Linked DNA regions of Homo sapiens: regions 2, 3, 4, 5, 6 and 7 are each linked to region 1. Evidence: promoter capture Hi-C in 16 types of primary human blood cells and fetal thymus (Javierre and others, 2016). All regions are on one chromosome and are shown on one strand. Each heading gives the region's core, a stretch centred on a gene start or on the middle of the fragment in contact. The rest is flanking DNA. Distances are from core to core; before and after follow the strand shown. Region 1 holds the start of VCPKMT (valosin containing protein lysine methyltransferase). Region 2 overlaps KLHDC1 (kelch domain containing 1). Region 3 overlaps KLHDC2 (kelch domain containing 2). Region 4 overlaps NEMF (nuclear export mediator factor). Region 5 overlaps NEMF (nuclear export mediator factor). Region 6 overlaps MAP4K5 (mitogen-activated protein kinase kinase kinase kinase 5). Region 7 overlaps NEMF (nuclear export mediator factor).

Region 1 (3,233 bases), core at 358-2,857:
AGTCCTTCACCATTATCCTCAGGTGATCAGTAGCATTGCCTTGTCTTGGATCCTCAGTGCTGCCAAAAGGCCAGTATAAAGAATTTATATTTGCACTGTAAACTCTGCAAAAATATGGTTTAAAGTGACATGATTGCACTGAAAAGGGATAGTGCTTTTGTGAAATTTTTCAAATTTGAGTAATAGATGCCTTTTTAAGGCAGTGAATTTACACAAATATGGGAGGGGTATATGGTGTTACTGATTTTTAAACCTCTTTGACCATCTTCTAGTTTTTACTTCTAGTTTTTACATCTAGGAGAATTGTGAATAACACCAACTGTTCTTAAACTCTTTAATGCCATGTCTTAAATGCCGGTATTTGCTGCTGAAGACAAAAATGAAAAGTAGGATGAAAATAATAGAATGGCACTGTAAGTGTTTATTATTTTGTCAAAATGTAAACAAAGACTACATAACCCAATGATGGAGGGAAAAAGGGCATGTATCTCATTCAGATGTGCCTTTTGTTTTTGCAGACTATGACGTCTTTAGCTAATGAATTGCCTATTGTTATGGAAAACAGTTAATATGCCATGTATGTACAGTTTTGTTTATATTGTATATTTAAAGATACTGCTAATAACCTATATAAATTTAAGTGACTTGAGGCCTATAATACAATCTGCTACTTTACTAATTCATAAATTCAAAAAAAATTCTATGGCATAGGAACCAACTGCCTTGCCTTCAAGACCTAGTAACTTTCTCTATAAATCTCGTGTTAACTGAAATTTTTTTTAAATATATTTTTTAGATTGGTAATATTTAAACCAGCAAATACTTAAAGCTTTATTAAACATTTTAATCAGATAAGTGAGTAAAGCTTTTATTTGCCATTTGGATGCCTTCGTTCAAAGTGATAGAGTGTTTTGCTGATAGTGCTGTAGCAGCAGTTGTAAAGTAGCCAAAAGCCACGTTGTTTATTTACTGGTTTGTGGCCTTTTACTGTGCTTTGTATCAGAGTTCTTAACAAGATTAATAAATCACCCCAGTCTTAATTTTTAAAAGACTTTTAAAATATGTGTTTTCATTATAAGGAACAAAGGGGGAGATTGTTGAGTCCTATAGACACACACACACACACACACAATTTTTTCTTCACTGTTAAATGTGAGCTGCAGGCTTCTAGCAACCACTTTTATGAATTCATACAAAAAACTAGGAGCATACTAGGAACTTGAAAAGGAAGATTGTAAGATTATAGCCATCTTTGGTAGGATCTTGGAAGCTGATTGCATTTAAGCCTTGTAACTACTATGTAAATCAAGTGTCCAACTTGGTAAACTCTGAGGTTGGCTTTGTTTTTTAAAGAGCAGATTATAATAGTTTTGTCTGGGAAAGTGATTTAAACGGCCTCTTCGTTAAGCCAAACGTGTGATTTAGGGTAGAGGGAGGCTGCCAAGCGCGTCGGGTAAGCAGGGGCCCCACGCTCGGCCCCGCCCAGGTAACGCTGCCTTCCGGGCTTTGTTAACTCGCGCGCGCTGCGTCGCCAACTCAGCGGCGGGCAGGGGGCGGAGCCGCAGGGCGGGGCGGTGCGCGTTGATGTGACGTCCCTGCGCGCGCCGCTTTCTGTTGCCGGGCGCAATGGCGGATACGCTGGAGTCCTCGCTGGAGGACCCACTGCGGAGCTTTGTGCGAGTTTTGGAGAAGCGGGATGGTACAGTGCTACGACTACAGCAGTATAGCTCCGGTGGCGTGGGTTGCGTTGTGTGGGACGCTGCCATTGTCCTTTCTAAATACCTGGAAACGCCCGAGTTTTCTGGCGACGGGGCCCACGCGCTGAGCCGGCGGTCGGTGCTGGAGCTGGGTTCGGGCACCGGGGCCGTGGGGCTCATGGCTGCTACCCTCGGGTAAGAGCTGGCGGGCGGGCGGGATGTGGGGGCGCCTTCTTGCTGGGGAAATCCGGATTACAGGCTTTCCCCCCTGTGCCTACACCTCAGTCGACGTTATTTTATAGGGCTGATGTTGTAGTCACCGATCTTGAGGAATTGCAAGACTTGCTGAAGATGAATATTAATATGAACAAGCATCTTGTCACTGGTTCTGTTCAAGCCAAGGTACTGAAATGGTTTGTATGGCCTTTCAGCTTGTTTTAAGATATTGATTTGTAGTTTGTTTTGAATTGCGTTTCATTAAAAGGATGGAAGGGGACTTTCCGGTTCTTTATAAAACAAGAGTATTTTGAATTATTAAAACAATTGAAATATTTGTTTGGCATTTTTAAGGGGGGAAGAAATAGAAGGCTTTCCTTCTCCACCCGACTTCATACTGATGGCCGACTGCATATACTATGAAGAGGTAAGTATCCAGTGAGCGAAGTCTCTTCACTTAGAAGATGAACCTTATTCCATGAATTCTAAAGCACACGTTTCTTCACATTTTAACATCTTTGAATCCGGGATTTGCCTTATAGTTGATGCAGTAAAGAGAAGATAAAAGTCACCAGGGACCATATGTATATACGCTCATCATTATCATACCGACCTGGTGAAGCATGTTGAGAAAAGTGTTATATGCATTTTACTAGAGGCTTCTGTAAAAATTTTAAAGGATTTTGCCAATTGGATGTTATGAAAAGCCAAAATCCTCTCTTTTTCCCTTGGTTGTTCCCACGGAACATGTTAACCATGACATTGAGAATTAAGTTATAAATAATTCATTGTTCTTTTCTTTAAATACCAGTTTGGGCCGGGCGCGGTGGCTCACGCCTGTAATCCCAACACTTGGGAGGTCAAGGCAGGTGGCTCACCTGAGGTCGGGAGTTCGAGACCAGCCTGACCTACATGGCAAAACCCTGTCTCTACTAAAAATACAAAATTAGCCAGGCGTGGTGGTGCATGTCTGTAATCCTAGCTATTTGGGAGTCTGAGGCAGGAGAATCGCTTGAACCTGGGAGGCGGAGGTTGCAGTGAGCCGAAATCATGCCATTGCATTCCAGCCTGGGCAACAAGAGCAAAACTCTGTCTCAAAAAAAAAAAAAAAAAAAAAAAACATCAGTTTGTATAGTGTTGTGGGCATCGATTATTTTAAAAATAATTAGCATTGAACCAAGTTAGGGTCAGATTTAACTTTTGTAGGGAAATCGTTGATTATTTAAATCCCAAATTAGATTAAATAAAATTAAACTTTTAAGAGTAAGGTTGATTCCATTTGTTTCCCATGAGAACTCCAAAATGCAGTCATCTGAATCC
Region 2 (3,233 bases), core at 230-2,729, 360 kb after region 1:
ATTGAAAAAAATGGGCAAAAGACCTGGACACCTCGCCAAAGTATATAGACGGCAAGTCAGCATATGAAAAATGTCAACATCATATGTCATTAGGAAATTGCAAATTAAAACAATATGAACCACTACATATCTAGCAGAACAAAGAAACCCAAAACACTGACACCACCAAATGCTGGCAAGGATGTGAAGCAACAGGAACTCTCATTCATTGAGTATAGCCACTTTGGAAGGTAGTCTGGTGGTTTCTTAATAAACTAAATATATTCTTACCATATGATCCAACAATCTTGATCCTTGGTATTGATCCAAATGAACTGAAAACTTATGTCTATACAAAACCTTGCACACAGATGTTTATAGCAGCTTTATTCATAATTGCCAAAACTTGGAAGCAACCAAGATGTTTTTCAGTAGATGAATGGATAAACTGTGGTATGTCAGACAATGGAATATTATTCAACGCTAAAAAGAAATGAGCTATCAAGCTTCGAAGAGAAATGGAAGAAACGTAAATACATACTGCTAAGTGAAGAAGCCAGTATGACTATACGACATTCTGGAAAAGACAGAACTATGTAAACAGTAAAAATGTCAGTGGTTTCCAGGGGTTAGAGAAGAGGGAGGAATGAACAGGCAGAGCACAGAGGATTTTTTAGGGCAGTGAAACTATTTTGTATGATACTACACTGGTGAATACATGTCCTTATATACATGTCAAAACCCATAGAATATACAACACCAAGAATGAGCCATAATGTAAACAACAGACATTGAATCATTTGAAAAAATCATGCTGTGCCCACATGCTGGACTGTATGGCAACTTCATCAAACTGGAAATTCCAAAAGAATTAAATTAATACAATGGAAAGAGAGGCAAAAAAACGTGAGTAGGGGGATCATCTGCTCCTTAAAATTGCTTCTTTTCCTCCCAGAAATTCTGAAATCTAAATTTTAATTCATCAATAGTATGCACTACCCTGACAATTATTCTATCATGGTGACTTTATTTCTCTCAAATACATGTACAAATAACACACTGGTGGCCGGGCGTGGTGGCTCACACCTGTAATCCTAGCACTTTGGAAGGCCAAGGTGGGCGGATCACTTCAGGTTAGGAGTTCGAGACCAGCCTGGCCAACATGACAAAACCCCGTCTCTACTAAAAATACAAAAATTAATGCTGGGCGTGGTGGCATGCACCTGTAATCCCAGCTACTCAGGTGGGTGAGGCACAGGAATTACGTGAACCTGGGACGCAGAGGTTGCAGTGAGCTGAGATCGCACCACTGCATTCCAGCCTGGGCGACAGAGACTCTGTCTCAAAATAAAAAACCCAAAAAAACAAAAAAAACCCACATTGGTGAAAACATCACTGTGTCAGCTGACAGTACAAAGTTCCAAAGTATGTGTGTGTATATATATATATATATATATTTTTTTTTTTGGACGGAGTCTCACTCTGTTGCCCAGGCTGGAATGCAGTGGTTCAATCTTGGCTCACTGCAACCTCTGCCTCCCACATTCAAGTGATTCTCCTGCCTCAGCCTCCCGAGTAGCTGGGACTATAGGTGCATGCCACCACACCCAGCTAATTTTTTAATTTTTGGTAGAGAAAGGGTTTCACCATGTTGGCCAGGCTGGTCTCGAACTCCTGGCCTCAAGTGATCTGTCCACCACAGCCCCCCAAAGTGCTGGAATTACAGACATGAGCCACCATGCCTGGCCTCTAAAAAGTATTTTTACAGGTGCTTTTGCAAAAATACTATTTGGAAAAAAGGTACACTAATTTTGATGTGTTATTTATCACATTAAAAATAACAATAACCTTAAAAGAATCCTTTCTGGCAATGGTAAGAATATTCTGAGATTTTTTTTTTTTTAACAGATAGGGTCTCTTCATGTTGCCCAGGCTGGTCTTGAATTCCTGGCCTCAAGCAAGCCTCCTGCCTCAGCCTCCCAAAGTGCTGGGATTATAGACGTTAGCCACTGCACCTGACCAGATTTTCATTCTCTTAAAGCCCATGAGAGTGTGTATTTTAAGGGGGCTAATCCAACTTTTAATGTTCCAAATACATCATTTAAAAATAGAGGTGCTCTTCTAAGAGGCGGGACAAGGCATTCACATAATCCAGAAGCCATTTTAAAACGGTGTTCCTTCTGCTCAATGTCATCTATCAGTGTCTAATTAGGTTTTGATATATTTTTGCCTTAAATATAAAAGGCTGATGCTAAATTCATCAGCACCACAGCATAATAAGGTAATTATTTCCAAGATGTGAATTATTTGTGAGATTCATTTTCTAAATCTGTTATTCAGCCTAAAAATAGAAAAATGAAAACTGACAATGAAATATTTTTTGTATAATCAATTCTAATGACTGCTTTACACTGACAAAAAAGAAAACAGTAATTATATACACTTTGTACAATAAATAAAACGTAAAAAAATATTTCAATACATAGAAGCTTTACACATCCAAAATACAGTACATATATATGAAATATCTCTCTAAAATTCAATGAAATACTACAAACTACTATAATTTTCATTATAAATTATATATATTTCAATATAGAAATGTTTTTCTTTAACATTTTAAATTTCAGAGATAACTTGCATGGTAATATTGTGGAGAATAATTTTACATACCAAGCTTTTTAGTAATTAATTGTAATTAATAATTCAATGGAAGGGCATGATTGTGATAATATGAAGAAAAATTTCTTAATTATGCCAAAAGTACCATTTTTAGGAATATAAAGATACAGTGTTCCATTTCTGTATAGATGGTAATGCTGAAAATACAAGGGAAGGTATTAGATTTTTTCAGTATCTGTCTTGAGTACAACTCTGTAGAATGGTGGGGGCCAAACTGAGGGATTTCTATAAAGTCAAATTACTAGATTACCATCCCATCTCATTACTTACAAAAATTACTTTAGAAGCAGTCTTCTAAGGCAAAATGTATTTTAATATGTCTCAAAAAGTTAATAAAAATACTGCTTCTTAATGTTTCAAAGCCTGTATGATAAATAAACCTCCACTTTATGTACTTTAAAACATGGTCTTTATATATAAACTAGACAAACTAATAACTTAGGGGTAATGGAGAGACAACTGAAGACATTTATTCCTCTATTCGAATAAAGGTGAGGAAAAGTTATGATGATGCCTAAGAATACTTTACTAGGTAAGTGTCGAAAAGGTCAGGAGTTCAATATTTAATACCA
Region 3 (3,233 bases), core at 500-2,999, 340 kb after region 1:
GCCGGGCACGGTGGCTCATGCCTGTAATCCCAGCACTTTGGGAGGCCAAAGCAGGTGGATCACCTGAGGTCAGGAGTTTAAGACCAGCCTGGCCAACGTGGCGAAACCCTGTCTCTACTAAAAATAAAAAAATTAGCTGGGCGTAGTGATGCATGCCTGTAATCCCAGCTACTCAGGAGGCTGAGGTACGAGAATCACTTGAACCTGGGAGGCGGAGATTGCAGTAAGCCAAGATTGCACCACTGCACTCCAGCCTGGGCGACAGAGCGAGACTCTGTCCCCATCCGAAAAAAAAAAAAAAAAAAAAAAAGACATTTGCTTATATCTCTGTATCTTGGCTACTCCTTCCAATTTTATTATTCAGTTCAAGCATCACCTCTTCGGTCAAGATTTTCCTTGTTCTGTTCCCTCATCCCACCAAATACAATGTCAAAGTTTTCAGTTTCAACAATACTTACTGAGTTATTTTCTATATGCCAGGTGCTGTGTATCTCTCTAGCAGGTGCTACTGCAGTGGTTTACTTACTATATGTGTCCCTTCTAGAATGTGAGTTCCAGGAGGTGAGAACTATATCATTCTTTCTGTCTCCAGTGTCCAGCCAAGTGCTCAGCACATAAAGTGCTTACTAAGTTGCCAACTTAATAGACTCCTATGGATTCATTTATTTGGCAACTCAGTAAGCGCTAATATATGTCATATGTATCATTTCTGATTGACTTAATCTGTCTCTTATTGGTCTGAAAGAGAAGAAGTGATATATTTTTTCCTACTTGGAACAAAATACGGCAAAGTCTGAACAGCATTGTCTTTGGGCACCACTTTATAGGAATGTTAACATGTAAAGTTTTGTCAGTTTTAATTTATCCTTACAGCTTTCTGACTGGTTGCCTGCTCATTTTTACCCTTCCCTCCATTACATCTTGTCTTCATTTTGTCTGCAATTTTATTACTAATGTTCATCTAACATTTAAGGTTCTAAGAGAACAAGTAGCTGCAAAAAGCACAAAGAAAAACCACCCAGGAAGTTACTGCACACAGGTTACCAACAAAAGTTGATTTTACATAATGCCTAGGTAAATACAGATTGGCACACAAAATACTAAAATGCACATTCATATCATAATCAAGTACACATCATTTTTAACTGTGACACAAATAAGTCTGGGGCTAACCTTAGAAATTTGCAGTTGTTTGAAAGATAATAAGAATAAAAATGCCTCAAGCCATAATCCTTAGAAACACTAACCTTATTGGTATTGCCTCTTGAATGGTGTCCTCCAAACAAGTACAGCACCCTGTCTACACACACAGCACAGCTTCCTGACATAGAAGGAGGAACATCACCTTCAGTGTTGATTTTTTTCCTGAGGGGGAATAAATTAAATGTATGTAAGTTAAAGGGAAGAAATGCAAAAGTCTATTAATTTTTCTTCTTCTACTTATATCCTCACAATAAAGGAATAAAATGAGAAGGCAGAGTAGACAGTGCCGCTAGGATCTCTCCTAGGTCTAACCTTAATTCAAGGAATGTGCTTTTCCCTCTTTACCCATTCCACAAACAGTGCCAGCTGGCCCCATGTGTACAGGCATGAGAGATTCTGAAAGCCTAAGTCATATTTTATTATTCTAGGAGCATACCATTTTATGTTTCTCAGACTAAATTGTTTGCTATTTATTTACATGGCCATAAGTTGTTTTGCTTTTGAGTGGGCCAGGAGCCCAGAAGGAAAACCTCAACATTCCCAGTGCTGATAGATTAATTCAGTGTTTTTTCTTCAGTCCCCTTTTAGCTGTTCATATGCATCAGATTCAGTCCTTTATGTAACACTACAAACAGGTAGTGCCATGTGCCAGGCATTCCTGAGTGCTTTGTATGTATTAACTCATTCTGAATCTAAAAATTGATCTGAATCAACCTAAGGAATCTAAGATTTAAAATTCTAATAGTATACTCAAGGTCTTCTGCTAAAACTGTCAGATATAATAATATTTATCTTTGCTAAACTTAAAAGTTTTAGAAGGCTCATTTTTTTAAAAGTTACTATTTTTGGCTGGGCGCGGTGGCTCATGCCTGTAATCCCAGCACTTTGGGAGGCTGAGGCAGGTGGATCACAAGGTCAAGAAATCGAGACCATACTGTTTAACATGGTGAAACCCTATCTCTACTAAAAATACAAAAAATTAGCCAGGCGTGGTGGCGGGCGCCTGTAGTCCCAGCTACTCAGGGGGCTGAGGCAACAGAATGGTGTGAAGCCAGGAGGCGGAGCTTGCAGCGAGTCGAGATTGCGCCACTGCACTCCAGCCTGGGCGACAGAGTGAGACTCCCTCTCATTAAAAAAAAAAAAAAAAAAAAAGTTATTATTTTTAAATAGAAACAGGGTCTCACTGTATTGCTCAGGCTGGTCTTGAACTCCTGGGCTCAAGTGATCCTCCCACCTCGGCCTCCCAAAGTGCTAGGATTACAGGTGTGAGCCACCATACCTGGCCTTAAATTTTTTTTTTTTTTTTTTTGAGATGGAGTCTGACTCTTTCGCCCAGGCTGGAGTGCAGTGGCGCGATCTCTGCTCACTGCAAGCTCTGCCTTCCGGGTTCACGCCATTCTTCTGCCTCAGCCTCCCGAGTAGCTGGGACTACAGGCGCGTGCCTCCACGCCCGGCTAATTTTTTGTATTTTTTAGTAGAGACAGGGTTTCACCATGTTAGCCAGGATGGTCTGGATCTCCTGACCTCATGATCCACCTGCCTCGGCTTCCCAAAGTGCTGGGATTACAGGTGTGAGCCACCGTGCCCGGCCCCTTAAAAATTATCTTTAAAAATATGTAGCATTCTGCTTTTAAGAGAATACAATTATAAATTTCCAATTCTCTAGAAAAAGATTAAGAAACAGCTTCATATTAACACCAATTTGTTATATACAGAAATAATCATGACTTATTTTTAGTTTGTAACTGTTAAATGTTTTTGTTTTTTGAGAGGGAGTCTCACTGTATTACCCAGGCTGGAGTGCAATGGCATGATCTCAGTTCACTGCAACCTCTGCCTCCCGGGTTCAGGTGATTCTCCTGCCTCAGCCTCCCTAGTAGCTGGGATTATAGGCACCTGCCATCATGCCTGGCTAATTTTTGTATTTTTGTAGAGATGGGGTTTCACCATGTTGGCCAGGCTGGTCTTGAACTCCTCACCTAAGGTGAGCTGCCTGCCTCGGCCTCCCAAAGTGCTGGGATTACAGGCGT
Region 4 (3,233 bases), core at 239-2,738, 320 kb after region 1:
ATAAAATAATTGTAAATTTATTTTGGAAGGAGTAATGCTTGAGAATAGCTAAGGAAATAAGGAGGGATTTCCCTATGAGGTAGTAAAATATTTAATGCTAGAATTTTTACAACAGCATGTTATTAACATAGGAATAGCTAGACAGAAAAAAATGAGACAGAATAAAATCTAGACAGAGGACCACTACCTGATATTTAGCATTTTAGTACGTGATAAAATAATATTGTAGATCATTTGAGAAGATATGAAATATTCAAAATGATGGCTAACCATGTGAAAACGGTACCACAGTGAATTGCAGGTGGAGAAAGTAAAGAACCACCAGTAAAATTAAAAAACAAATGACAAATCTGGAAAAAAAAAAAAGTGATGACAGAAATGCTGTGTAAACCTGGGGAATTTTTTTTACCCATCAAATTAATAGATACTACATTGTCAGTTTGAGTGTACAACATGGGAATTCCAGTCAAAAGTCTTAACAGTGCTTCTGCCCTTTGACTCAGCAATTCCTCTTATAGGAATTTATCCTAAAAAAAATTATGGGTACGCAACGAGGACGTTGAAGTTTATATTTGTAGTAGCAAAAAAATACTGCAATTAATCTTAAGTGTACAACAATGTGAAATAACAATAAATGATGCATTTTTACAATGAAATATTCTGCAGATAGGTTAAGTTTCAAGGCAAATCCTGATAGAATGTTTATTAAAATACATTAAACTTTTAGATTATTTTCTGGGGAATTGTCATTTTTACCACTTTGAGTCTTCCTGTGGAAAACTATAATTGTGCAATTATAAAACTATAACTGAGCAATCTGCCCGCCTCAGCCTCCCAAAGTGTTGGGATTACAGACTTGAGCCACTGCGCCCTACCTATTTTTGAAACTTTCATTTCCTAGCTGTTACTTGCTGGTACATGGGAAGACAACTTTCATGTTGATCAAGTAATGGGCAATCTTATAGAGCACTTACTAATTTTAATACTTCATCTGTAGGCAGTCATATCGTCTGCAAATTATGGCTTTTCTTCTAGTCTTAATATCTTTTTATTTTCCCCATGTTTTTTTTTGCAGTGACTGAAAAGCAAAAATATAATGTTTCATAGAAGTAGTAATCGTGTATATCTTTGTTAATTCCATTACAGGAACTGTTTCTAAGATTTTATCATTGCGGGATGTTTCCTTTGGGTTGTTGAAGGACACCTTTTTGAAAGTTATTTTTAATAACGATGAGTTAAATGTTACTGAATGGTTTTTCTGTGTCTATTGCATTCTTTTTGTTTGTTTTTTTGAGACAGGGTGTCACTCTGTTGCCCAGGCTGGACTGCAGTGGTGTGGTTATGGCTCACTGCAGCCTCGATCTCCTGGGCCCAAACCATCCTAATACCTCAGCTTCCCAAACAGCTGGGATCACAGGCATGTGCCACCATGTCTGGCTAATTTTTATTTTTATTATTTTTAGAGACAGGCTCTTCCTATTTGCCCAGGCTGGTCTAACTCCTAGGCTCAAGTTATCCTCCTGCTTGTTATCCAAAAGTGCTAAAATTAACAGGCATAAGCCACCATGCCCAGACTATTGTATTATTTTATCTGTTAGTCAGTATGGTATATTAGTTGAGAAAAATATATTAATTGGCTTCTAATTTCTCATACCGTCTCTGCCTGTTTTTTGTGTTTACATTATACCAGTTTCATAAAATAAGTTTAGGACCTTTCCCTCTTTTTCTGCTCTCTAGAACTTTGTATAAAATGGAGATTGTGGCTGGGCACGGTGGCTCATGCCTGTAATCCCAGCACTTTGGGAGGCTGAGGCAGTTGGGTCACCTGAGGTCAGGAGTTCAAGACCTGCCTGGCTAACATGGTGAAACCCCATCTGTATTAAAAATACAAAAATTAGCCGGGTGTGGTGGGACCTGTAGGTCCCAGCTTCTTGGAGGCTGAGGCAGGATAATTGCTTGAGCCTGGGAGGCAGAGGTTGCAATGAGCCAAGGTCATGCACTGCACTCCAGCCTGGGTGACAGAGCAAGAACTCTGTCAAAAAACGGAGATTGTTCCTTGAAATTGGATAGCATTTGCTTATAAAACTAGACCTAATGTTTTGGGTTTTGTGAGGAGACTTTTTTTTTTTTTAGACTGGGTCTTACTTTGTTGCCCAGGCTGGGATGTAGTGTTGCAATCTTGGCTCACTGCAGCCTCGACCTCCTGGGCTCAAGCAATCCTCCCATCTCAGCTTCCCTAGTAGCTGAGACCACAGGTGTGTGCCACCATGCCTGGCTATTTTGAGGAGGTTTGTAAGAACTAATTTCAATTTCTTTAATGATTTTAGGTTTATTCAGGTTTTCCGGGATTTTTTTTGAAGTTGGTTTTCCGAAGTTGTATTTTCTAAGAAACTCTGTTGTCATCAGGTTTTCCATTCCTCAGTCCTGTTTATTGGTTACAATATTCTTTCTCAATTTTTTTTTGAGGTACAGTGTACATAGTAGTAAAATGCACAAATCTTTGGCTCAGTGAATTTTTTTTTTTTTTTTTTTTTTTTAAATGGAGTCTCGCTCTGTTGCCCAGGCTGGAGTGCGGTGGCGCGATCTCGGCTCACTGCAACCTCCGCCTCCTGGGTTCAAGCAATTCTCCTGCCTCAGCCTTCTGAGTAGCTGGGACTACAGGCGTGCACCACTATGCCCAGCTACTTTTTGTATTTTTAGTAGCGACAGAGTTTCACCATGTTGGTCAGGATGGTCTCGATCTCTTGACCTTGTGATCCGCCTGCCTCGGCCTCCCAAAGTGCTGGGATTACAGGCGTGAGCCACCATGCCTGGCCTCAGTGAATTTTTATAAGCACACACATCTGTGAAACCACCACTCAGATACAGATACTTTACTTGGAATGTTTCCAGCATCCCAGAAGGCTCATGCTTGCTTGCCAGTTTCTTTTTTTCTGAGATGGGTTCTCACTGTGTTGCCAGCCTGGATGGAGTACAGTGGTGTGATCTCAGCTCACTGCAACCTCTGCCTCCTGGGTTCAAGCGATTCTCCTGCTTCAGCCTCCTGAGTAGCTGGCACTACAGGCACACGCCACCACACCCAGCTAATTTTTGTATTTTTAGTACAGACGGGGTTTCACTTATGTTGGCCAGGATGGTCTCGATCTCCTGACCTTGTGATCCACCCGCCTCGGCCACCCAAAGTGCTGGGATTACAGGCGTGAGCCACTGCGCCCAGCCAGAAGGCTCATGCT
Region 5 (3,233 bases), core at 226-2,725, 310 kb after region 1:
AAAAGATGCCACAAAACACTTTGAGATGAACGAAATGAAAATACAGTGTGTCAAAACTTATGAGATGCAAGAAGAGCAGCCCTTAGGGGGTAATTTATAGCTATAAATGCCTATATTTAAAAAGAAGAAAGATCTCAAATCAGTAACCTAACTTTGCACCTTAAGAACTAGAAAAACAACCCAAAGCAAGGAGAAGGAAGAAAATAGTAAATATTAGAGTAGAAATGAACAAAACAGAGAATAGGAAAAAAATAGAGAAAATGAACAAAACCCAAGTTGGTTCTTTGAAAAGATAAACAAAATTGATAAACCCTTGGCTAGACTGACCAAGAAAATAGAGGACTCAAATCCCTAAAATCAGGAATGAAATAGGGAACATTACTTCCGACTTTACAGATATTGAAAGGATTATAAGGGAATACCATGAACAATTATATACCAACAGATTATGTAACCTAGATGAAATGGACAAATTCCTAGAAAGATATAAATACTAAAACTGACTCAAGAAGAAATAGAGAATTGAAATAAACCTGTAAGTACAGAGATTGGATTAATAATAAAGAAAAACATTAAAAAAATACTCATCAAAGAAAACCCTAGGCCAGATGGCTTCACTGGTGAATTATAAAGAAGGTTGAATGCCAGTTCTTCACAAACTCTTCCAAAAAATAGGATCAGTGGGAACACTTCCTAACCCATTCTACAAGGCCAGTATTACAAAACCAAAGATAACACAAGAAAACTACAGACCAATACCGGTTATAAATATAGACAAAAATCTTTGACAAAATATTAGCAAACTGAATCTAGCAGCATATTAAAATGACTATATACGATGACAAAGCGTAATTTATCTCAGGAATGAAAGCTTGGTTCAGTATATGGAAATTAATGTAATATAATCTACTAATAAAGGACAAAAAACACACATGGATTATCTCAACTTATGAAGAAAAACCATTTGACAAAATTCAACATTTGTTTGTGATAAAAACACTCAGCAAACTAGGAATAGAAGGGATATTCCTCAACTTGGTAAACAAGCATTTATGAAAAACCGACAGCTAACAATCATACTTAATGCTGAAAGATTGGGTACCTTCCTCCTCCCATCAGTAATAAGACAAATATGTCTGTTCTTGCCATTTCTATTTAACATTATACTGGTGGTTCTATATAGGTCATTAGGCAATAAAAAGAAAAAAAAATCCAAATTAGGCAAAAGTAAAGCTACCTATGTTTACAGTTGATATGGTCACACACATTTAAAAAACCTAAAGAATCTACCAGTAATTATCAGAGCTAATAAACAAGTTCAGCAATGTCCAGGATATGAGATCAGTAAACAAAAATCAGTTGTATTTCTGTACACTACCAGTGAACAATCTGAAAAGGAAATTAATAAAACAATTCAATTTATAATTAGCATTAAAAAGAATAAAATACTTAGGAATCAATTTACCAAAAGACTTACAACGCTTATAGATAACAAACTATAAAATTATTTTAAGGAATTAAAGACCTAAATTGGACATCCCATGTATATGTATTGGAAGTCTTAATATTGTTCTGATAGCAGTACTCCCCAGTAATCTAGGAATTCACTGTAATCCCTCTCAAAATTGCAGCTGCTTTTTTTGTTTTGTTTTGAAACAGGGTCTCCTGTCACCCAGGCTGTAATAAAGTGGTGCGATTGGCTCACTGCAGCCTTGAACTTTCAGGCTGAAGCGATCCTCCCATCTCAACCTCCTGAGTAGTTGGGACCATAGACATTTGCCACTGTGCCCAACTTATTTTTGTGTTTTTTGTAGAGATGAGGTTTTGCCATGTTGTCCAGACTAGTGTCGAGCTCCTGAGCTCGAGCAGTCCATCCACTTTGACCTCCTAAAGTACTGGGATTACAGGCATGAGCCACTGCCCCTGGCCCTGCATTTTATTTTATTTTATTTTTTCAGAGATGGAGAAGCTGATTCTAAAATTCATGTGGTAATGCAAGGAGACTCAGATTAGCGAAAGCAGTATTGAAAATGAAGAGCAAATTTTGAAGGACTCATGTTTCCTGATTTTAAAGCTTTCTACAGAGTAACAGTAATCAGGACACTGGTACTGGCATGAGGATGGACAAATAGATCAAGGGATAGAATCGAGATTCCAGAAATAAACCTGTAGTTTATGGTCAGTTAATTTTCAGCAGGGGTGCCAAGACCAATGGGGATAGAATTTCCTCTTTCTTTTTTTCTTTTTTTAATTTTTTGTTTTTGGTTTTTTGAGATGGAGTCTTGCACTGTCACCCAGGCTGGAGTGCAGTGGTGTGATCTCGGCTCATGCAAGCTCTGCCTCCTGGGTTCACACCATTCTCCTGCCTCAGCCTCCCGAGTAGCTGGGACTACAGGCGCCCTCCACCACGCCCGGCTAATTTTTTGTATTTTTAGTAGAGACGAGTTTTCACCGTGTTAGCCAGGATGGTCTTGATCTCTTGACCTTGTGATCCGCCCGCCTCAGCCTCCCAAAGTGCTGGGATTACAGGCACGAGCCACCGCACCCGGCCTCTTTTTTTAAATAGACATTTTTTTCGACCAGTTTTAGGTTCACAACAAAATTGAGCAGAATGTATAGTGATTTCCCTCATACCCCCTGCTGCATGCATGCGTAGCCTCCCCTATTATCGATATCCCCCACCAGAACGGTACATTTGTTACAACTAATGAACCTACATTGACACATCATTATGGCCCAGAGTCCATAGTTTGCATTAGAGTTCACTCTCTTTTTTTGAGACAGAGTCTCGCTCTGTTGCCCAGCCTGGAGTGCAGTTGCGTAATCTCAGCTTACTGCAACGTCTGCCTCCCAGGTTCAAGCGATTCTCCTGCCTCAGCCTCCAGAGTAGCTGGAATTAACAGGCACGTGCCACCACACCCAGCTAGTTTTTGTATTTTTAGAAGAAACAGGGTTTTACTATGTTGGCCAGGCTGGTCTCGAACTCCTGACAAGTGTTCTGCCCACCTCAGCCTCCCAAAGTGCTGGGATTACAGGCATGAGTCACCAAGCCCAGCCAGGGTTCACTCTTGATGTATATAGTCTTTGAGTTTGGACAAATGTGTAAAACATGTATCTGCCATTGTATTATCATACAGATTTAGTTTGGTTGTGCTAAAAAAGTCCTCTGTGCCCTGCCTGTTCATCCCTCCCTTCCCCCAACCCCCGACAACCACTGATCTTTAAAGGCTGGC
Region 6 (3,233 bases), core at 319-2,818, 310 kb before region 1:
AACTAGTTTCTTCTTTTACTCCTTATATTACATGCCAATTTGGATTTAACATTTTTGAGAGAGATTCTGACATAGGAATCCTTAATTCCTCTTCACTTTCATTGAAACACACTGATACCTCAACTTTTTCAGATGTGCCAAATTATCTTCGTAATTTTAATTGTTACACAAAAGTTTGTTCCTCCTAGGCTACCATCTTTTCTTGCCAGTAAACCTTGGAATAATTACAGGAATCCTCCTGGGGAAAAAAAAATGCCTTTACAACACCTCTTAAAAATAAAATCAGTAACTAGGTTTTTTATTTGTCACAGTTAGTGAAACACATGTGATTTGTCATTGTCAAATACTTTTATTTTTATTGAGCTTAATTATGTTCCCAGAACATTCTTACATTAACTTTTTACAAAAAGTTAATAGTCTAATAAAACAGTTAATTTTCAGTTACTTTCCTCCATCACTTTTAATTATGCTTTTCTAACTCTAATACTTACTTGTAATGGTTAAATACTAAGAATTTTATGTAAGAATTGACTCACAGATCCTAAATATTCAATGTGTGGTTAAATGTTGGATTGTGGGGCAGGTTTATTTTATTTTATTTTTTATTTATTTATTTTGTTTGAGACGGAGTCTCGCTCTGTCGCCCAAGCTGGAGTGAAGTGACGTGATCTCGGCTCACTGCAGCCTCCACCTGTGGGGTTCAAGCAATTCTCCCGTTTCAGCGTCCTGAGTAGCTGGGGCTACAGGCACAGGCCACCACACCTGGCTAATTTTTGTATTTTTGTAGAGACAGGGTTTCACCATACTGGTCAGGCTGGTCTCCATCTCCTGACCTCAGGTGATCCACCCACCTCGGCCTCCCAAAGTGCTGAGGTTACAGGGATGAGCCACTGCGCCCGGCCAGGTTTATTTTTTAAAATTTCTTTTGTTACAGGGAAAATATGAACATAAAAAATGCTTGTTTAAAGCTACTTCTGAATATGTAACAGTATTTAAACAACAATGCTTTTAATGCAAAAACCCAGTTATATATGTTTTTATGATTTTATTCATTTAAGACAAAAGATACACTGTATCTTTTGTATGAAAGAAATGAATATGCCAACATCCACCTTATCAGAAGTTAGTTCATGTTTAAATGAATGGCTTTTATATGTATCTTTGAAGACTTGCATAACCCTACCTCAGTAAATTACTTGAACTTAGGCATGTCTTAGCCACAAAAATGTTGAGAAATCGTGGTCTAGACAGTGGAATTTTGCACTAGACACTTGAATAGGCTTATATTATTTATTAAAAGTAGAGAAAATTTATAGTGAAATGCTCTGTGCTTTATATTAGTTTCACTTCTCCCTTATCATTTTTAGTATGCCTTCAAGACAGTGTGTTGGCTTTCTGGAAACATGGGATGCAGGGTAAAAGCTTCAAGTCAGATGAGGTAAGCCTTCTCAGATTACCTCCACTGACTCCCACTAACAATTTTAAATGTCGAAGCACTCGTTTTATGCATTTCCTCTCTGAACCTACATTACTGTGTTTAGTGCTTTTAATACTATGAACTGGTAGAACAAAAAAGCCAGTATTTTCCCTTCAACTATGTTCACTTCTGTATCATAGTTCAAAATTCTCAGTGGCCACCAGGAATTGCAAAATATAAGTTCATGCAATTTCATTTATCTAATTTGTAATTTGTAAATATGGTTGCTAAGCTTGTAAAACTTTTCTAAATTTATTAAGTGTTTTCCATAATCTATAAATATCTGGCTTCTTTTTAAATATATTTTAAAATCTAAATTAATACATAATGGAGCATAAGAATAAGGGAATCTAAGAAAATTGACTCATTTAGTAACTATTGAGTACCAACTATGTTCAAGACACTATTATTGTAAATAATATCAAACTTTAAATAATACCTACTGTGTTCCAGGCACTTTACAAATATTTGCTTATTTCAGGCTCAAAATAATCCAGTAGAAGTAGATACTATTCATATTGCCATTTTTACAGCTACAGAGTGGTTAAGTAACTTGCCCAGAGTTACATAACTAGTGAAGTGGAAGAGTCTGGATTTGAAGGGTCTCTTTAAATCACTTCTAGCTGAGATAATTACGTCTCATGCAGGAGATGGGATTTGGGCCTCCAATTTGAGGAATGAGTCCTACTAGCTAAGATAATACTAACAGAGACATTTCACATTTACGTGAATACTTGTGTGATTCTTCTAACTATGGCCTAACAAGTTTGTGAACTTACTTAAAGCTCAAAAACTTCTTCTGTTTGCATTTACCTTTAGTTTTATCCACACTCTTACTTATATATAAATGAATATTCCTACCTCTTATATGAATGCAGAATTAGAATGCTTCCAGGAGGAAATGACATAAATCAGCTGTCTTTGAATATATAAGTTTATCTAGTTACTGATACGTGTCACTAAATGTCACCAAGTCCCTGCACTTGATGAAACCTACAGTCCTACTTATTATCATATGGTTAATTATTCTTAAATGCTATTTTCATTATGTCACTCCTATGGTTAGAAATCTACAGAAGGTCCTTGTTTCTTACTGTATCAAATATTGATTCCATTTCCGAAATATCTATTTTTAACTCTTTTTTTTTTTTTTTTTTTGAGATGGAGTCTCACACTGTCGCCCAGGCTGGAGTGCAGCGGCACAATCTCAGCTCACTGCAACCTCCACCTCCTGGGTTCAAGCGATTCTCCTGCCTCGGCCTCCTGAGTAGCTGGGATTACAGGCATGCACCAACACACCCAGCTAATTTTTGTATTTTTAGTAGAGATGGGATTTCACCGTGTTGGCCAGGCTGGTCTCGAACTTCTGACCTCACGTGATCCACCTGCCTTGGCCTCCCAAAGTGCCGGGATTACAGATGTGAGCCCCACACCCGGCCTATTTTTAATTCGTCTTGATTACCTTTTTTTCAGTTTATGTTCTCATCCTTCAACTTGGGCCTAGCTAAAGTCTTGACCTCTTTCATAAAGTAATACTCAGTCATTCCAGGCACAATGATTAGAACATCTCTGAACTTAATACTCTGAAAAATCAGCTCCAACTAGTATAACACCTAATTTATTTTCTGATTCAAGCTTATTAATTCTATTTTCCCAGGTAGACTGCAAACTCCTTGATACCAGACTTTTTTTTTTTTTTAACTTACTTTATATCTACAATATCTTAGTGTGGGTTCCTCTAAAAGTAGACCCTAAG
Region 7 (3,233 bases), core at 425-2,924, 290 kb after region 1:
ATATGATAAAATGCCAAATAACTACCATGAGCCTTTGTCTTATTAATTTAGGGGAAAAAGTTTCTGTAAAATACTGGAAATAGTTGTGAGAAAATCAAAAGTAGCAAAAAATACAAAGTCATTTGGTAATTTATGCTCTTTGGGAATTCATTCCCTGCCAGGTGCAGTGGCTCAGGCCTGTAATCCCAGCACTCTGGGAGGCCAAGGTGGGAGGATTGAGCTCAGACATTGGAGAGCAGCCTGGGCAACATAGCGGGACCCGGTCTCTATTATTTAAAAAAAAATAAAGAATTCGTTCTCCCAAACTTTACTTTTGTGCCATAGGAAAAAATGTCTTGATTTCTGCCTGTTTGAATAATGCCAAGGGTATTAGGGGTATATCTTATATACACAGTAACCTGTAATCAAAATACCTTTCTATATAAGGAGTGGGAGTTAGGAAGACAGGAGAAGTAATTTTGGGGCATGGAACGCATTGTAGTGGGATAGGCCTAGGGTGGTAGACTATGGGAACTTCAGCTAGCTAGATAACAGCATAGATGGGGTCAGGATAGTGAGTGTTGGGAAGTAAGAGAGGGATGTCATGAGGTAGGAGAAATCTAATTTTTAAAAAATCTGTTTTGCCAATAAAAGGAAAAGCAAGCATTGAAGAAATTAGATAATGTTCGAAAGGATCACGAAAACAGATTGGAAGCTCTTCAGCAGGCTCAGGTATTATGTTTGGCTTTCTCAGTGCTTTTTCAAAAATGTTAACTTTAACTGGCAATGTAGTAAATGTGTGTGGTTTGTTTTTTAAGGAAATAGACAAACTGAAAGGAGAGCTCATAGAAATGAACCTACAAATAGTTGACAGAGCCATTCAGGTAGTTCGAAGTGCTTTAGCTAACCAGATAGATTGGACAGAAATTGGGTTAATTGTGAAAGAAGCCCAGGCTCAAGGAGACCCTGTTGCAAGTGCAATCAAAGAATTAAAACTACAAACAAACCATGTTACAATGCTGCTAAGGTAAGTTTGACTCTTAGTCAAGCAGTTAATGCTTGTCTTTATTTTGTTATTTTAATTGTTCACTGTATTAAACATTTTTTCTTCATATTTTGAAATTCTCAAAGAAAGGGAAAAAACTAATTTAGATTAAAATAAATAATGAAACTTCCAGTACTGTAAACCATTTATAATTTTATTGAAGAAGAAAATTGAAAATAAAAGTGATGTCATTGACGTTAGTGAAATGCTATTGAATATTTTTAATAGAAATCCATACTTGTTATCAGAGGAGGAAGATGATGATGTTGATGGTGACGTCAATGTTGAGAAAAATGAAACTGAACCACCAAAAGGAAAAAAGAAAAAACAAAAGAATAAACAGCTGCAGAAGCCTCAGAAAAATAAGCCCTTACTTGTAGATGTTGATCTCAGCTTGTCAGCATATGCCAATGCCAAAAAGTAAGTCATTTAACTTTACATTTTAGGCCAAGTGTTATCTGCAATAAATTAAGGAATTAAGGACATTTTAAAAAATTTTAAATTTCACTTGTACATGCATACTTTTTTTGGGTGAAAATACTTTTTTAAATTTAGTTTTGTTAATTATACAGTTTGTTCTGATTTGTTCTGTATAATTTGAGAATTTGTCAAGTTAGAACTAAGTAGAAAACTGAAGAATAAATATTATACTTAAAATTTAAGAGAAATATGTTTTTCTAGGTATTATGATCACAAGAGATATGCTGCTAAGAAAACACAAAAGACTGTTGAAGCTGCTGAGAAGGTACTGAGTATTTCTTAGAGTGAATGTTAGTTGTTTGTGCCTGCGTAATTTAATGGACATAATTATTTCTTCTGTTTAAATGAGGTTTTCTAATTCAGAAGTATCTTTCAAACTTAACTTTGCTTTAAATATATGTATTTCCAGTATTTTTTCCCCCCAGGACTGCTCCTCCCCTATTCTTCCTCATCTCAGTAAATAACACCTTCATTTTTCTGTTCACTCAGGTTAAAAATGTTTGTGATATCCTGGACTCTTTTCCCATAAATCATGCAATCCATCAGTAAATCCTTTGGTTCTTTCTTTAAAGTACAGCCAGAATCTGGCTACTACTCATTATTTCCACTGATCAGTCCCCTATCACCTCTGTGTTCACATGGACTATGACAAGTAGCCTCTTATTGGATCTCTCTCCTCCTCCTCTTTTCCCACTACAGTCTGTTCTCCACATAGCAGCCATTGTGACCCTTTTTTTTTTTTGCGATGGAGTTTCACTCTTATTGCTCAGGCTGGAGTGCAATGGCTTGATCTCAGCTCACTGCAACTTCTGCCTCCCAGGTTCAAGCGATTCTCCCACCTCAGCCTCCTAAGTAGCTGGGATTACAGGCGCCCGCCACCACACCCAGCTAATTTTTGTAGTTTTAGTAGAGACAGGGTTTCACCATGTTGGTCAGCTTGGTCTCAAACTGCTGACCTCAGGTGATCCGCCCGCTTCAGGCCTTGACCTTCGGCCTCCCAAAGTGCTGGGATTACAGGTGTGAGCCACCATGCCTAGCCCCGTTGTGATCCTTTTGAATCAAAAGTGAAGACTGGGTGTGGTGGTTGACGCCTGTAATTCCAGCACTTTGGAAGGCCGAGGCCGGTGGATCGCTTGAAGCCAGGAGTTTGAGACCAGCCTGGCCAACATGGTGAAACCCCATATCTACTGAAAATACAAAAATTAGCCTGAGGTGATGGCGGGTACCTGTAATCCCAGCTACTTGGGCGGCTGAGGTGGGAGAATCTAATGAACCCGGGAGGTGGAGGTTGCAGTGAGCTGAGATCATGCCATTGCACTCTAGCCTGGGAGACAGAGCGAGACTCCGTCTCAAAAAATATATTAAAATAAATAAATCAAAAGTGAAGTCCTTTTTCTCTTCCAGTTGCTTCCCATCTTAATACAATTCAGAGCCCTTCTCCTATCCTGCAAGAAGGACGGGAGATCTCCTCCCCTCTGACCTCAACACCTGCATTCCTCCTCTCATACACTCTTTCTGGCTACACTGGGATCTTAGCTGTTCATAAAATAATGACACGTGCTCCCCTCTCAGGGTCTTTGCCCTTGCTGTTCTCTCTACCTGGAATTTTCAGTTTGACCCCTCTCTTCATTTACATATCCACTTAAATGAGATTTAATCAGAGAATCCTTCCTTGACCGCTCATTACTAACGATAGTACCACCCTGAATCTCTCTTTATTTTGCCTTAT

What was found. Contacts are between HindIII fragments. The CHiCAGO score rates a contact against its expected background, and 5 or more counts as called.
Region 2: a fragment that was not itself captured here is called in contact with the fragment with the promoter of VCPKMT in region 1 in 1 of 17 cell types (naive CD8 T cells); the score reaches 5.0 in naive CD8 T cells.
Region 3: a contact is called between a fragment that was not itself captured here and the fragment with the promoter of VCPKMT in region 1, in 13 of 17 cell types (monocytes, naive CD4 T cells, total CD4 T cells and 10 more). The highest score is 12.3, in monocytes.
Region 4: a fragment that was not itself captured here is called in contact with the fragment with the promoter of VCPKMT in region 1 in 1 of 17 cell types (total CD4 T cells); the score reaches 5.0 in total CD4 T cells.
Region 5: a fragment that was not itself captured here is called in contact with the fragment with the promoter of VCPKMT in region 1 in 11 of 17 cell types (activated CD4 T cells, total CD8 T cells, naive CD4 T cells and 8 more); the score reaches 10.9 in activated CD4 T cells.
Region 6: a contact is called between a fragment that was not itself captured here and the fragment with the promoter of VCPKMT in region 1, in 1 of 17 cell types (M2 macrophages). The highest score is 5.1, in M2 macrophages.
Region 7: a fragment that was not itself captured here is called in contact with the fragment with the promoter of VCPKMT in region 1 in 14 of 17 cell types (naive CD8 T cells, total CD8 T cells, activated CD4 T cells and 11 more); the score reaches 18.5 in naive CD8 T cells.

Annotation. Positions count from the first base shown.
Region 1 is chr14:50,114,946-50,118,178 of GRCh38, reverse strand. It overlaps VCPKMT (valosin containing protein lysine methyltransferase), which reads left to right and starts at 1,607. Exons shown (of 6, transcript NM_024558.3): 1 at 1,607-1,892; 2 at 2,000-2,110; 3 at 2,268-2,340. The coding sequence starts at 1,627. It overlaps SOS2 (SOS Ras/Rho guanine nucleotide exchange factor 2), which reads left to right. Exons shown (of 23, transcript NM_006939.4): 23 at 1-1,049. RefSeq lists an enhancer at 1,611-1,670. The HindIII fragment of the contact is 15,614 bases long and covers 868-3,233 here.
Region 2 is chr14:49,752,273-49,755,505 of GRCh38, reverse strand. KLHDC1 (kelch domain containing 1) reads right to left here. Exons shown (of 13, transcript NM_172193.3): 13 at 2,356-3,233. Among named protein-coding and RNA genes, the nearest start is that of KLHDC2, 14 kb to the left of the region's middle. The HindIII fragment of the contact is 1,983 bases long and covers 488-2,470 here.
Region 3 is chr14:49,772,693-49,775,925 of GRCh38, reverse strand. KLHDC2 (kelch domain containing 2) reads right to left here. Exons shown (of 13, transcript NM_014315.3): 3 at 1,248-1,365. Among named protein-coding and RNA genes, the nearest start is that of KLHDC2, 6.2 kb to the right of the region's middle. The HindIII fragment of the contact is 4,163 bases long and covers 1-3,233 here.
Region 4 is chr14:49,791,040-49,794,272 of GRCh38, reverse strand. The region is part of intron 26 of NEMF (nuclear export mediator factor); the gene reads left to right. Among named protein-coding and RNA genes, the nearest start is that of KLHDC2, 25 kb to the right of the region's middle. The HindIII fragment of the contact is 8,583 bases long and covers 1-3,233 here.
Region 5 is chr14:49,809,405-49,812,637 of GRCh38, reverse strand. All of the region lies in intron 18 of NEMF (nuclear export mediator factor), which reads left to right. Among named protein-coding and RNA genes, the nearest start is that of NEMF, 42 kb to the left of the region's middle. The HindIII fragment of the contact is 1,203 bases long and covers 874-2,076 here.
Region 6 is chr14:50,424,112-50,427,344 of GRCh38, reverse strand. MAP4K5 (mitogen-activated protein kinase kinase kinase kinase 5) reads left to right here. Exons shown (of 33, transcript NM_006575.6): 31 at 1,368-1,438. Among named protein-coding and RNA genes, the nearest start is that of CDKL1, 29 kb to the right of the region's middle. The HindIII fragment of the contact is 287 bases long and covers 1,425-1,711 here.
Region 7 is chr14:49,826,827-49,830,059 of GRCh38, reverse strand. NEMF (nuclear export mediator factor) reads left to right here. Exons shown (of 33, transcript NM_004713.6): 12 at 634-711; 13 at 798-1,006; 14 at 1,253-1,444; 15 at 1,706-1,769. Among named protein-coding and RNA genes, the nearest start is that of NEMF, 24 kb to the left of the region's middle. The HindIII fragment of the contact is 5,222 bases long and covers 1-3,233 here.